3 separate regions of the Homo sapiens genome follow, and regions 1 and 3 are each linked to region 2. The links are contacts of gene promoters, found by promoter capture Hi-C in blood cells and fetal thymus (Javierre and others, 2016). All regions are on one chromosome and are shown on one strand. Each heading gives the region's core, a stretch centred on a gene start or on the middle of the fragment in contact. The rest is flanking DNA. Distances are from core to core; before and after follow the strand shown.

Region 1 (4,171 bases), core at 935-3,434, 2.0 Mb after region 2:
AACTACTCATGTCAGACACTTTACTAAATCCTGAAACTATAGCAGTTACTCAAACAGATTAAGCAGCAGAAGAAATCACTGCCCTCAGAGCTCATGTTTAAGTTGAGGAGCACAAACAATTTTATATATAATATATAAATTATATATAATGTGTGTGTGCATGTGTGTGTGTATATATATGTGTGTGTGTGTGTATATATATGTATATATAAAAAATATAAAATATGTTAAATGGTGACCAGTGCTAAGAAGAACAATAAAGGAAGAAAGGGGAAGAGGAGTGAGAAGAGTGGGTGCAACTTTAGAGCGAGAAGCCCATATCTGAATAAGGGCATGAAGGGGGCAGGGATGAATGGAGAGGATACCTCAAGGAGAAGCATTCCAGGCAGAGGAAAGAGCAAGGATAGAGACCGGGGCAGAAGCTCACCTGGTGGGAATCTTCTAGTGGAAATGTGTGTTCCTATTCTATAAACAGCAGAGGCCAATGCAGCTACAGCAGAGCCAGGGAGGCATAGAATCAGTATATGATCTTAGAGAGTTGGGATGGAGGAAGTAGGAGAGAGAACAGTTCAGTCCCTGTGAACCACTGGAGGATTTTAGAAAAAAAGAGTAGGGACATTATGTGAATTACATTTAACAGGATCTTTCTGGCTGCAGCCGACTGTGAGAGGACCAAGGGTGAAAGCAAAAAGATCAACTGGGAGACTCCTGAAATAATCTTGACAATGCCTGAGGGTGGCTTAGACCAAAGTAGAAGCAGTGAAGATAACTGAAAGTTGTTGAATTGTGGACAGATTTCAAAGGTAAAATGGATAAGATTTGCTAACATGTTAAATGTAGTACGAGTGAAAGAGAGAATTCAAAGATGACTCTAAGATTTTTTTGCCTGAACAACTGGGAGAATGGAATTCCCAGGGAATGAGATGGAAAAAACTTGAGGTTTGGGGTAACATTGAGTTTAATTTTGGACATAATAAGTTTGAAATGTCTATTAGCCATCTGTGAAGAAATATCAAATACACCGCTATATATACAAACCTGTGATTCTGGGAATAGTTCCATCCTGAGGGTATACATTTGGGAGTCAGCTATATGGAGGTGGCATGAAATTCTTGAGATCAGAAGAGATTATCCAGGGAGTGAGCACAGATAGAGAAAGGAGAGGCCACAGGTCTATGTCCCACTTTTCCAGCAGAACACGGTGCAGTGTTAAACCATTGCCACACCTCGCCAATGAAACTAGACCACACTTACCCAACAGCCCAATTATTTGGAAAATTCTTGAAATACAGAAAGGAGTAGAGCAGCCCCAGGAGCTGTTAAGGTGTCTCAAAATTTATTCACTGTAACTCCCAGGAAAGTTCCATGGGACATCACCCAGGGCTGGCTGCAGCCTCTCAGAAGCACATGCAATGACAGCAGCTAAATGCGACTGACAAAAGTAAATCAGACACAGCTTAAATAACCGTGAAGCCTAAAGTTTGGACTCCCTGGTGCTTAGCCCATTTCTCTTTCTGATAAATAACTCTACCACCTAATTATTGAGGTAGCAAATAGTTGTAGCCCCATCTGGGCTAGCCTGAACTGTGGGTCTGTTAGTGCTCCTTAAAACTACTATTTTGTTCAGGGTGTATTTAGGAGGACTGAGCACTCAGTGGGGAAAGTTGCTAGAGGCAATACTCAGCTTCTCCTCAACTACCCAAACAAATCTGCGCCAGCACCAAGCTCACACACTGGTTCAGGACCACCAGCACTCTGCAGGAAACCCTCTTCCCCAAAGATGGTTCAGTGACCACTTAATGTTATTTCAGCATGACCCTTACATATGATGACCATGTGATTAAGTATCCAACCTGGGATACTTTCTAGTGTCAAAGGGGGTGCTATTACAACAGGTATCAACTGGGACTGTGTAGGCAGGAAAGGATTCGTAGTCCTAGCAATTCACACCCTCACTTACTCCACTCCCATTCCAGGAAGCTTATGAAGGAACTTCTTCCAAAAACATAAAATACTGCCTGAGATGACTTCTGGTAAAAACAACTTTGTCTGAGACCATTTTCAGAAATAGTTTAGCATGTCTTACAGATGTGAGGTCCTGTACAAGTTACTGACCACCCATTCTTTCATCTATCTCTGCCTATCTTTTATGGAGCACCTGTTCTGTCCCAGGAACAAGGGACACAGATTTATACAAGGGAATCAGTATTGGTTAAGTTCATATTTAAGTATGTTAACTCACTTAATTCTCACAAAACCAGTGAGAAGTTAACCCTGCTTGACCAGTGAATTCATGAATGCTCAGGGAGGTTATGGAACATGGCTAAAGTCACACAGCTAGCGGGTGGCAGCAGCAGGATTTTATTTCATCACTGGCTGCTAAGCTTGTTCCTCTTTCCTTGTACTACACTGAGGGGAAAGATGGTGAAAGACTCATGAAGGACATGAAAGGAGCTCATGAAAGATGATGAAAGACTCTTGAAAGACAGGAGTCCATGTCCCACAAGATGGCTCAGGCTTTGGCACAGTGTTTCTTGCCACTTTGGGAGGCTGAGGCAGAAAAACTGCTTGAGGCCAAGAGTTCGAGACCAGCCTGGGCAGCAAAGCAAGAACCATCTCTACAAAAAGGAAAATCTTACTTTAAAAAAATATGGTTGAGTCCACGTGAGAGACTACAGTACTTCCTCTTTCCTATTTCCATAACAAATCATTTCAACATACAATCAGATTAAGAAAACTGCTGTGAAAATTCACCATGTGACCCCTTCCCCACCACCCCACTAAAAATACAGGAAACCCTCCCAGTGCCTCCTAAATATTCATGGAGGAATCTTTCAGATGGCACCATAGGCAGTTTGATCTGCAAAGACAAAGTCACTAATATCACCTTTTAACAGCCAGTAGTTTCTTCCCTAATTAAGAATGTACTCTCCCCACCACCAGATTTCTTCTTAGTCTAAGGTTTCATCATCAGCCAGCATTTGCCAGTGCTGCCCTAAGGCGGCTGGCCATCAGAGCCACGTGGGAGCATCACTCCTCAGGCTTCACTGCCAGAAAGGCTGGCACCAGAGTTCTGGGATTGGACTAGGGAATCAGTATTTTTAACAGGTCCCCAAAGTGATTCTGATGCAGTCAGACCACAAATATTTGGCTTTTGGAAATTAATAAGTACCATTAGAGAGAAAGTTTGTATGAAAAAAAAAAATACATCACAAGTGCGGTTCTTGCTACTTCTGCCAAACTGCCATTTTCTCCAAGGTACTTCTTTCTGGTAATGGAGGAAGAGAGCTAAATCCAATTAAAACTCTCTGTGATGCTACTGAAGCTCAGTGTGATGGTTAATTTATGTATCAACTTGCCTGGGCTGAGGGATGTCCAGGTGGCTGGTAAGATATTATTTCCAGGTTTGTCCGTGAGAATGTTTCTAGAAGAGATTAGCATGTGAATCAGTAGACTGCATAGATTCCCTCACCAATGCAGGTGAGCATCATTCAATCTCTTGGGGGTCTGAATAAAAATGTGCTCTCTCTCTTTGAGCTGGGACATTCAGCTTCTTCTGCCCTCAGACATTGGCACTTCTGGCTCTCAGGCCTTTAGTCTCAGACTGAATTATACCACCAGCTTTCCTAGTTCTCTGGCTTACAGACAACAGATTGTGAACTTCTTGGCCCCTGTAATATCATAAGCAATTTATATAATAAATATCTATGTCAATACAGATATAGATAATTAGTTTTATTTCTCTAGAGAACCTTAACTAATACATCCATTGATATTAAAATCATTATCAACCTGATATATATTGGTAAATTAGAGTATGTCTCATCATATTATAGCATAATGATAAAGTCTTAATGCATATTCTACTTTTGCAATTTGGGGTCTAGCTAGCCTTCTCACAACTCGATGTAGGACATAGTTTAGATTCTTGTGTGTAGATAAGCCCTTGTCACCTTTTCAAAAAGTATTCTTTATAGCATTAAGTAACAGATGACCTAAATATTTTTAAAGTTTATAATTTACCTTTAAATCTGTAATTTGTACATTAAAAAGTTCAGGAATTATAAAGGCCCTGGAATTAATATAAAAACAAATATATTTTTAGTATAGGGAACAATCTCTTAGTTATGATTAAAGGCAACCTTATTTTTATCTCTCACCATTTGATTGC
Region 2 (3,616 bases), core at 809-3,308:
TGTCTAATACAGTGCCTGGCGTCTTTTGAGTGAGCCATGAACTAACCATGTGAAAGAATGAATTAAACCTATATTATCACTTTCACGTTCAGCAAATATGTTATTCTTTAATTCCTCCAAGAATCTGTTTTTCCTAAATTGGGCCTTCTCAAAACAAATATATTTATCTCCCTACCCCTTTCTCCCTTCCTTCTCTGTCACATACACACACACACACACACCCCTACCTTTCTCTTTAGAACAGCTGGAAAAAAAAACACTGCCTCGTTCATATTTTTGGAATAAAGTTAGCATTTTTACTAGGATATTCAGGAAAACTGATAGATGGACAGGATTTGGAGGCATTACACATCTCTGGAGAGCTTTCTTATGATTTGTGGCATCGAGTCTTTCAATAAAATTACTTGTCTATAATAAATTCTGGCAGAAAGTAAATCAGAAATTCACTGGTGAGTTGTCAGTGAAGTTAAATACTTCACTCTGTGTACTTCACTCTGTTCTATACAAGCAAACAGTGACTAACAGGATTAACCTGAGCTCTAATACTGGGTGTAGATATTCCTCAACGACAAACGGGTTCCCTTCGTACAGGCATTAAATTTATATTATATTTAAGGGGGCATAAATTTTGCTTTTGCAAACACATTTTACTAGAAAAATATTTGATCCAGATGTCAGCACAAAAGTGTCATTTCTTTCCTTTGCAAGGGAGCAGCAACAAAACAACCAATGGGGAGGAAGAATAAGATCCCAGACCTCTGAAGAGGACACAGGTTTCCACTAAAGCAAGGTTGATACTTTCAAGGAATATTTTTCCTAACAGCTAAAACGGTTTAACACATAGCATCTTGTATCAATTACACAAACACCATTAAAGCCACTCTGGTTCCCTGGGAAAGGACCGCAACTGAAATCCCTTCTGGCTTCAGCTGTCCCCTCCTGCCGAGTTTGACAGCACATCCAAGGCGCCCAAACACCAGCCACTAGGCTCCCCCCCAGCGCCCTCCTCTCGCAGCAAACCGCCAAGGCTCCCGGGCCAAACTCCAAAGTCCCTCAATTCAAAACCGCGAAAATGTGAACCCTGCTAAGCAAACGGCAGGGCGCGTAATAACTTTTCTTTCTTTCCCTTTTGCGCGCGTTCGATATGCTTGTCTCTACTACCAACTCCTCAGCTCCACAGCCCGCTTCCCGCAACCCATCTCGAGGGGCGGAGGAGAGGGAGCGCCCACCAAAGAAAGGGCTAGTGAGCCCTAAAACCTCGGCAGTTTTCCCGGTGCGGGAGCTTTAGCACACATCAGCCCAATAATCAGATGCAGGAATAAAGCAGGAAGAAGGCTCCTCTCTCCATCGCACCCCATCCTTCCTAAGGAAGAAAAAAAGCATGCAGCAGGAGTTTAGCTGGACGTCTAGGTCCTTTTATGGGGCGAACAGGCCCGCAAAGCAGGCTGTCTGGAACCTGGAGGAAGAAAGTTGTCCGGCCAAGTGGATGCCTGGGCGTGAGGGAGTGCAAGGCACCCTGTCCCGAGCCCGCCAGGGGTAGGGGCCAAGGGGAAAGAGACCGGCATTCGTTTAAGAACCAGCCCCGCGCGCGGCCAGCTGCAGCCGCCGGCGAGCCGACTGGGGAGGGGTGTGGACGCCGAGGCCCGCGGAGTGGTGCCCGCAGCTCTACTTACATAACGCTTCAACTTTTTCTCCGGGGGGGACTTGCGGAGCCATCCGGAGCAGACCACTTCACCACCGCTCATGGTGCGCGCGTCTCGGGCTCCGGGCCGGGCAGCTGAGGGGCGGCGGGCGCGCTCCCGACACAGCCGACGCCTGCCGAGCGCGCAGTGGCGAGAACCTAGCTCTCCTGGTCGCGCACCCCGGACGGACTGGGCGGACAGACTCCACGGTGCGCGGGTTCCACGAGTTCGAGTCTCTCCTCTGCAGGCCCACGAACCTGAACAGAACGCGAGCCGGGGCCGCGGGCGCGCCGGCCTCCTTTCAGTGCGCCCGCCTCGCCTCCAGACGTGCCGTCTCGCCAGCTGCCTCAGCAGCGCTCGGACTCAGCGGGACTCTGCCCCGACTCGGTGCCGGAGCTTCTGTCCTTTGCGCTCCGCCCCCTAGGGACAAGACCTCCCCAGAGCGCTTTCCGAAACAGACACAGCGCTGCTCACACACACACACACACACACACACACACACAATGCCCCGCGCGGTGCCCGCTCGCCCGCCCACCCGCCCTCGGTTTCGATGCGCCCGGAGCGATCCTCCTTCCCTCTCCTCGGGGGAGGGTGGGTCACTTCGCGGCGCTCGGTGAACGCCGAGGAAAGGGGAAGCCGCGAGCCGCCTACGGGCAGCGGGCGCGGGGCTGGTCCCGGGTCACAGAGGGAGCCGCAGGGTTGGCAGCGAAGCGCGGGGCGTTTCTGAGCGGCGGGCGCAGGGAGGTCGCAGGTCAAGCCGGAGGGTGGGTCCGCTCTCGCGGCCGCCGAAGAGGGCGGGGAGCAGCAGAGGAACGAGGCGCTTGGCGGCTTGGCTCCTGGGAGGGATCCCGCTGTCCCGTCCCCTCGCGCTCCTCCCCCGCCGCCTCCCCCACCCCGGGGCTCGCGGCAGGTCCTGAGCGGCTCGGCCCCAGATCCCGATCCCTCCCTCCCTCTCCCGGCCGCCGGGCTCCTTCTTCCTCCCTCTCCTCCTCCCCTTCCCACGTTCAGGCCCGGCTCCGGTTTCTGCCCAGACTTTCTCTGAAACTCCGCCGGAGTGCTTCCAGCCAAAACAACAAGGGCCGGGGGAGGAGACGGACGAAGGGAGGGAGCAAGGGAGGGAGGGAGCGCGAGTCCGAGAGGCACCCTGGGATCTGTAGTTCGGGAAGCAGGAGCAGGGTCCTCCGCCGTCCGGCGGCCCCCAATCGGCTCCTCGCCCGGGAAGACCGCAGAGGCCTCGGCTAGGGCAGAGGCACCGGGGCTTGGGCGCGGGGAAGACTGAGGGACATTCGAATGTTCAGTCCGGGGCTTGCCATCTTGACTCAGCCCGGTGCCAGCTCGGAGCTTGTGCTGTGCTCGAGATCAGGAGTTTCGAGGGTTTTCTTTACTTGAGAGCCTGAAAGGCAAAACCGCGGGGAGACCACCATCCTGCCGGTCCCCGCCGCGCGAGATTAAAGGACAGACCAAGAGGGCGCGGGAGCTACCAGCTTGGAGGGGAGGACAGATGGGGACCCAGGGCTGGCCAGGGCTGGTCTCTGGAGCTGTTCTGCCAGAGTGATGGGGGCGCTTGGCGAGGCCAAGGATTTGGTTGGGTCCTATCTCTGAGACATTTTGAAGTCTCACACCCCTTCCATTTGTTGCCTATTCCACTTAACTTTGTATTTGTTTGAAATCTACTGTTCGGATGCTGGACTAGAAGAGGGACACTTGGCCGGGCGCGGTGGCTCACGCCTGTAATCCCAGCACTTTGGGAGGCCGAGGCGGGCGGATCAACTGAGGTCGGGAGTTCAAGACCAGCCTGACCAACATGGAGAAACCCAATCTCTACTAAAAATACAAAAATTAGCCGGGCGTAGTGGCGCGCGCCTATAATCCCAGCTACTCGGGAGGCTGAGACAGGAAAATAGCTTGAACCCGGGAGGCGGAGATTGCGGTGA
Region 3 (3,977 bases), core at 859-3,358, 2.1 Mb after region 2:
AATTAAGATAAACTTTAATTTAAAAAAACTCATATCTATAATACTGCTTAGAAGAGATGGTAAGTTACTTTGGAGATACACCAAAATTGTTCAGCCATTTTTATTCTGATAAAAGCTAAAATGAAAACTGTTGAAGTCCTTGAAACTGAACTGAAACTGAGAAAAGGGGGCTCTTACTCTCCACTAGCTACCCATATAACACTCACAATGCTCAAAGAGACTACCTGCTCCACCACAACTTCCCTCCATGTTTGGGTAAACAATACTAGCATTGACAATAACAGACAGTATAGATCCCTTCTCTAACTACACTGATAATCAAAACAGTACCAGTAGTTAGGATTGACAGTATCCTGAAAAAAATCTCAAAAACAGCATTCAAAATGTTTCAAAGTCAACATTCACCTATAACAAAGCTCATTACTTGTGTCTAATGACTCACCATGGTCCCACACGCCTCGTTCACATTCAACACACTCAGCATCGGTAAGAGGGCAGGCACAAGCATGTGTACTGAGACATTTCCTACCATGGCAAACCCAAGCTTCACAGAAGTCACATATTGCACCCTGTAACCAAGGAACAAGAATACATAATCATTATCACCTGACCACCTGCAACCATTCTTTAACCACGGCAACCATCAAAACTGTATACATTTAGCAATTTATCAACCCTCAATGATAGTAGGCCGCTTCATTTAAACATTTTACTACTCACTCTAAGCCAAAAATAAAAAGGGTTCTCTGAAAAACAACTTCTTAACAGCTATCCACAATATACAAAACTCAGTTACATATCAAAAGAAAAAAAGGTAAACTGTACACTTATCCTAATATTATTTAATTAAGCCAAAGAGATGGAAGTATTTTCCTCAAAATGAATTTAATTCAAATAAAGTTTGAAGGAACCAACAGCTTAAGCTTTCTTGTCTATAATAATTCCTGTAACTACACTGAATTTTTAAATACTACCATTTCTGATTTTTAAAATACCTTCTTATCTATATATTTGCATAGCTTTTCTAGAATTACTGAGAAATACGAAACTTCTGCCAGCTTCTTTTTTTCTCTTATGACAACTTATGTTTTAATAATAATTACATTTCTTTGTGGAAAAAATTTGAAGTAAAATATATGGAACTAAAATACAGGGTAAGATTCTCCAATTCTATATCAAGAAAAGACAATAACAATATGTTTCAATAAAACATTGACACCTACCAAATATTAAAAGCTAGAAAGAATCTTAAGAGAGTAGGATCAGACAATCTTTCCTTTATAAAGGAAAAGCATGGGGCCCAAGACTAAATCCAAGTCCCGAGTTGGATTACAGGTGAGGTGAGATTTAAAGCCAGGATTTCAGAATCTCAATTCAGTATTCTATTATTCAAGGCTCTGAAACAAATGTAGTAAACAACAAATAGGAAGAATGTTTTTTGACTTGCAAAAATGGGTTATCAGTATAGCTAGCAAATCATCAACTATATCTCTTGGATCAGCCAGGGTTCTTGCAAAAAAGAGATGGTACTCTCAAACTAGGTAATCTAGAAGAGTTTTAAAGAGATAATTTGCAGAGGACAGGGAAGTTCTTAGGACAAACAGGAGAGGACTACCTGGCCATATAGGGAGAACTGTGGTCCTTAGAGAAAGGATAAAACCAAACCAGGATAACCTGGTACGGAGTGAGATGAAGGAATAAACACCCAGATCTTATTCTCCTGCTATTCTCAGGGGGAATCTGGGGAGGCAAATAGAAGATATCCAGAAAATCACTTTTCTAGAATTTACAACTAAAGATATATGACTCTACTTAAATGTTTTCTTTATGTAAGAAGAAATTATTCACATTCAAAAAACAGTGATTTTAAAAAATGAATTTGGCTGAACTTAAGCTACCAAGGAAGACTGAAAGTGTTTTTGAATAAAGATAACTTGACAATCCTATACTTAAAATAAAGAGCAATTCACAAGATGATAATTCTCGCTCCTTGCTTCTATAATATATGCACATATGAAATATATCATAGGTCTCCCTCATAATAGAAGTTTACATGTTCTTGGAAATTTACCATAAATAAAATATTCCATTTGACATAAATATAGTATCATTTTCCTCATAGATTAAAATTTGAACAAAATTTTATTTGAACATAAAATCATACTGCAATACAGTAAAACTGGTTAACTCATATTTAGAAGGAAAACATGTTTCAGGAAAAAGAGCAAAATACATCACATAATCCAGTTGGTTTTATTATTCAAAAAGCTGAATTTACTTTAAAAAATCCTATATGTAATGAAGAGGTATGTTAAATATATACACTTTTTTGAAATGTAAAGTTTTAAAGAACACTATTATCCTAGGTTCGTTTGGAACTAAGTTGCTTATTTAACCAAAGGCTTAAACGTTGGTTAAGCAGGGCTTTCGGTACACTAAATACTGTTTTGTGAAGTCTGGTTAAGAGATATTAGAAAGGTACCACTGAGTATATACCCAAAGGATTATAAATCATGCTGCTATAAAGACAAATGCACACGTATGTTTATTGTGGCACTATTCACAATAGCAAAGACTTGGAACCAACCCAAATGTCCAACAATGATAGACTGGATTAAGAAAATGTGGCACATATACACCATGGAATACTATACAGCCATAAAAAATGATGAGTTCATGTCCTTTGTAGAGACACGGATGAAGCTGGAATCCATCATTCTTAGCAAACTATCGCAAGGACAAAAAACCAAACACCGCATGTTCTCACTCATAGGTGGGAACTGAACAATGAGAACACATGGACACAGGAAGGGGAACATCACACACCACAAACCGGGGACTGTTGTGGGGTGGGGGGATGGGGGAGGGATAGCATTAGGAGATATACCTAATGCTAAATGACGAGTTAATGGGTGCACCACACCAACATGGCACATGTATACATATGTAACAAACCTGCATGTTGTGCACATGTACCCTAAAACTTAAAGTATAATAATAATAATAAAATTTAAAAAAAAAAAGGTACCACTGAGAAATGAAATTCTGTTTAGATCAGCATGAAAAGTTTCCATGCCTTGTATGTTCCCTAATAAGAAAGAAAGAAGCAGCTAGAAACAAGTGGGTACTAAGGGAAAATCATACAAAAAGCATGCCACTCATAATCCAGATAACTACAGATTGATTGAAACAAGGGACAAAGCAATGATATTTAGAAAAAAATAACCACTGATCAGAATGACATTTTCTTATCCTTGAAAACGTACTAGTCTAAGAGATAATAAGAAGCTTACCACCATTGCAAGGCCAGTACTGTATACACCAGCATGCTTTATGACACAGTCTGAAGACTTCATCATGCACTTTGTTTTCCCTAATGAAGAAAAACATTTGCACTGTTAGTCTTGCAAAGGAATACATACCAGTACTCACGAATTCCTCCTTTTATCCAGCCCAAGTTCCTGAGGAAATAATTTAAAAACTAATGAAATTGAATCAGTATTTACTGCTTACATAACTAGAAAGAGAAAATGGATATAACTGAGACTTCATTACTCGAATCAGACTTTTCAGATTATACATTTACTAATAAATCTGTAAAATGAACTATACAATATATATGCTAATTTGTACTAAATCAGAAATTGCAGGTTATGCTTTGTAATCTAATGATCATTTTAACAGTTTAAAAACTTATCAATCTTCAGATTATTCAAAACAATTTTTAAAGGAATGCTTTTTATAACAAATTTTACATTTTATAATTCACAATAAAAACTGTGGTTTGAAGTTATTTCTTTCCACAGAATAATACCTCAAACCAAACCAAATAATGATTATGTAACTTATCGAGTTAATGTAATTTTATCCAAACATAAAAATTTACAACGAAGCCCCCAGTTAAACATTTTCCCAACAAAATTTTGAAATAGTGCCCAAATAAGCACAATAAACAATACGGTGATACAGCTACAAAT

The links. Contacts are between HindIII fragments. The CHiCAGO score rates a contact against its expected background, and 5 or more counts as called.
Region 1: a contact is called between a fragment that was not itself captured here and the fragment with the promoter of GAB1 in region 2, in 2 of 17 cell types (monocytes and M0 macrophages). The highest score is 5.5, in monocytes.
Region 3: a contact is called between a fragment that was not itself captured here and the fragment with the promoter of GAB1 in region 2, in 2 of 17 cell types (monocytes and total B cells). The highest score is 8.6, in monocytes.

The regions. Positions count from the first base shown.
Region 1 is chr4:141,310,252-141,314,422 of GRCh38, reverse strand. No RefSeq gene overlaps it. Among named protein-coding and RNA genes, the nearest start is that of LINC02432, 20 kb to the left of the region's middle. The HindIII fragment of the contact is 404 bases long and covers 1,983-2,386 here.
Region 2 is chr4:143,335,318-143,338,933 of GRCh38, reverse strand. GAB1 (GRB2 associated binding protein 1) reads right to left here and starts at 2,058. Exons shown (of 10, transcript NM_002039.4): 1 at 1,674-2,058. The coding sequence starts at 1,745. It also overlaps the pseudogene LOC124900789. RefSeq lists enhancers at 1,319-2,132, 3,042-3,251 and silencers at 2,162-2,211, 2,282-2,341, 2,442-2,741, 2,682-2,849. The HindIII fragment of the contact is 8,165 bases long and covers 1-3,616 here.
Region 3 is chr4:141,226,163-141,230,139 of GRCh38, reverse strand. ZNF330 (zinc finger protein 330) reads right to left here. Exons shown (of 10, transcript NM_014487.6): 5 at 3,294-3,373; 6 at 443-569. Among named protein-coding and RNA genes, the nearest start is that of ZNF330, 7.3 kb to the right of the region's middle. The HindIII fragment of the contact is 2,365 bases long and covers 926-3,290 here.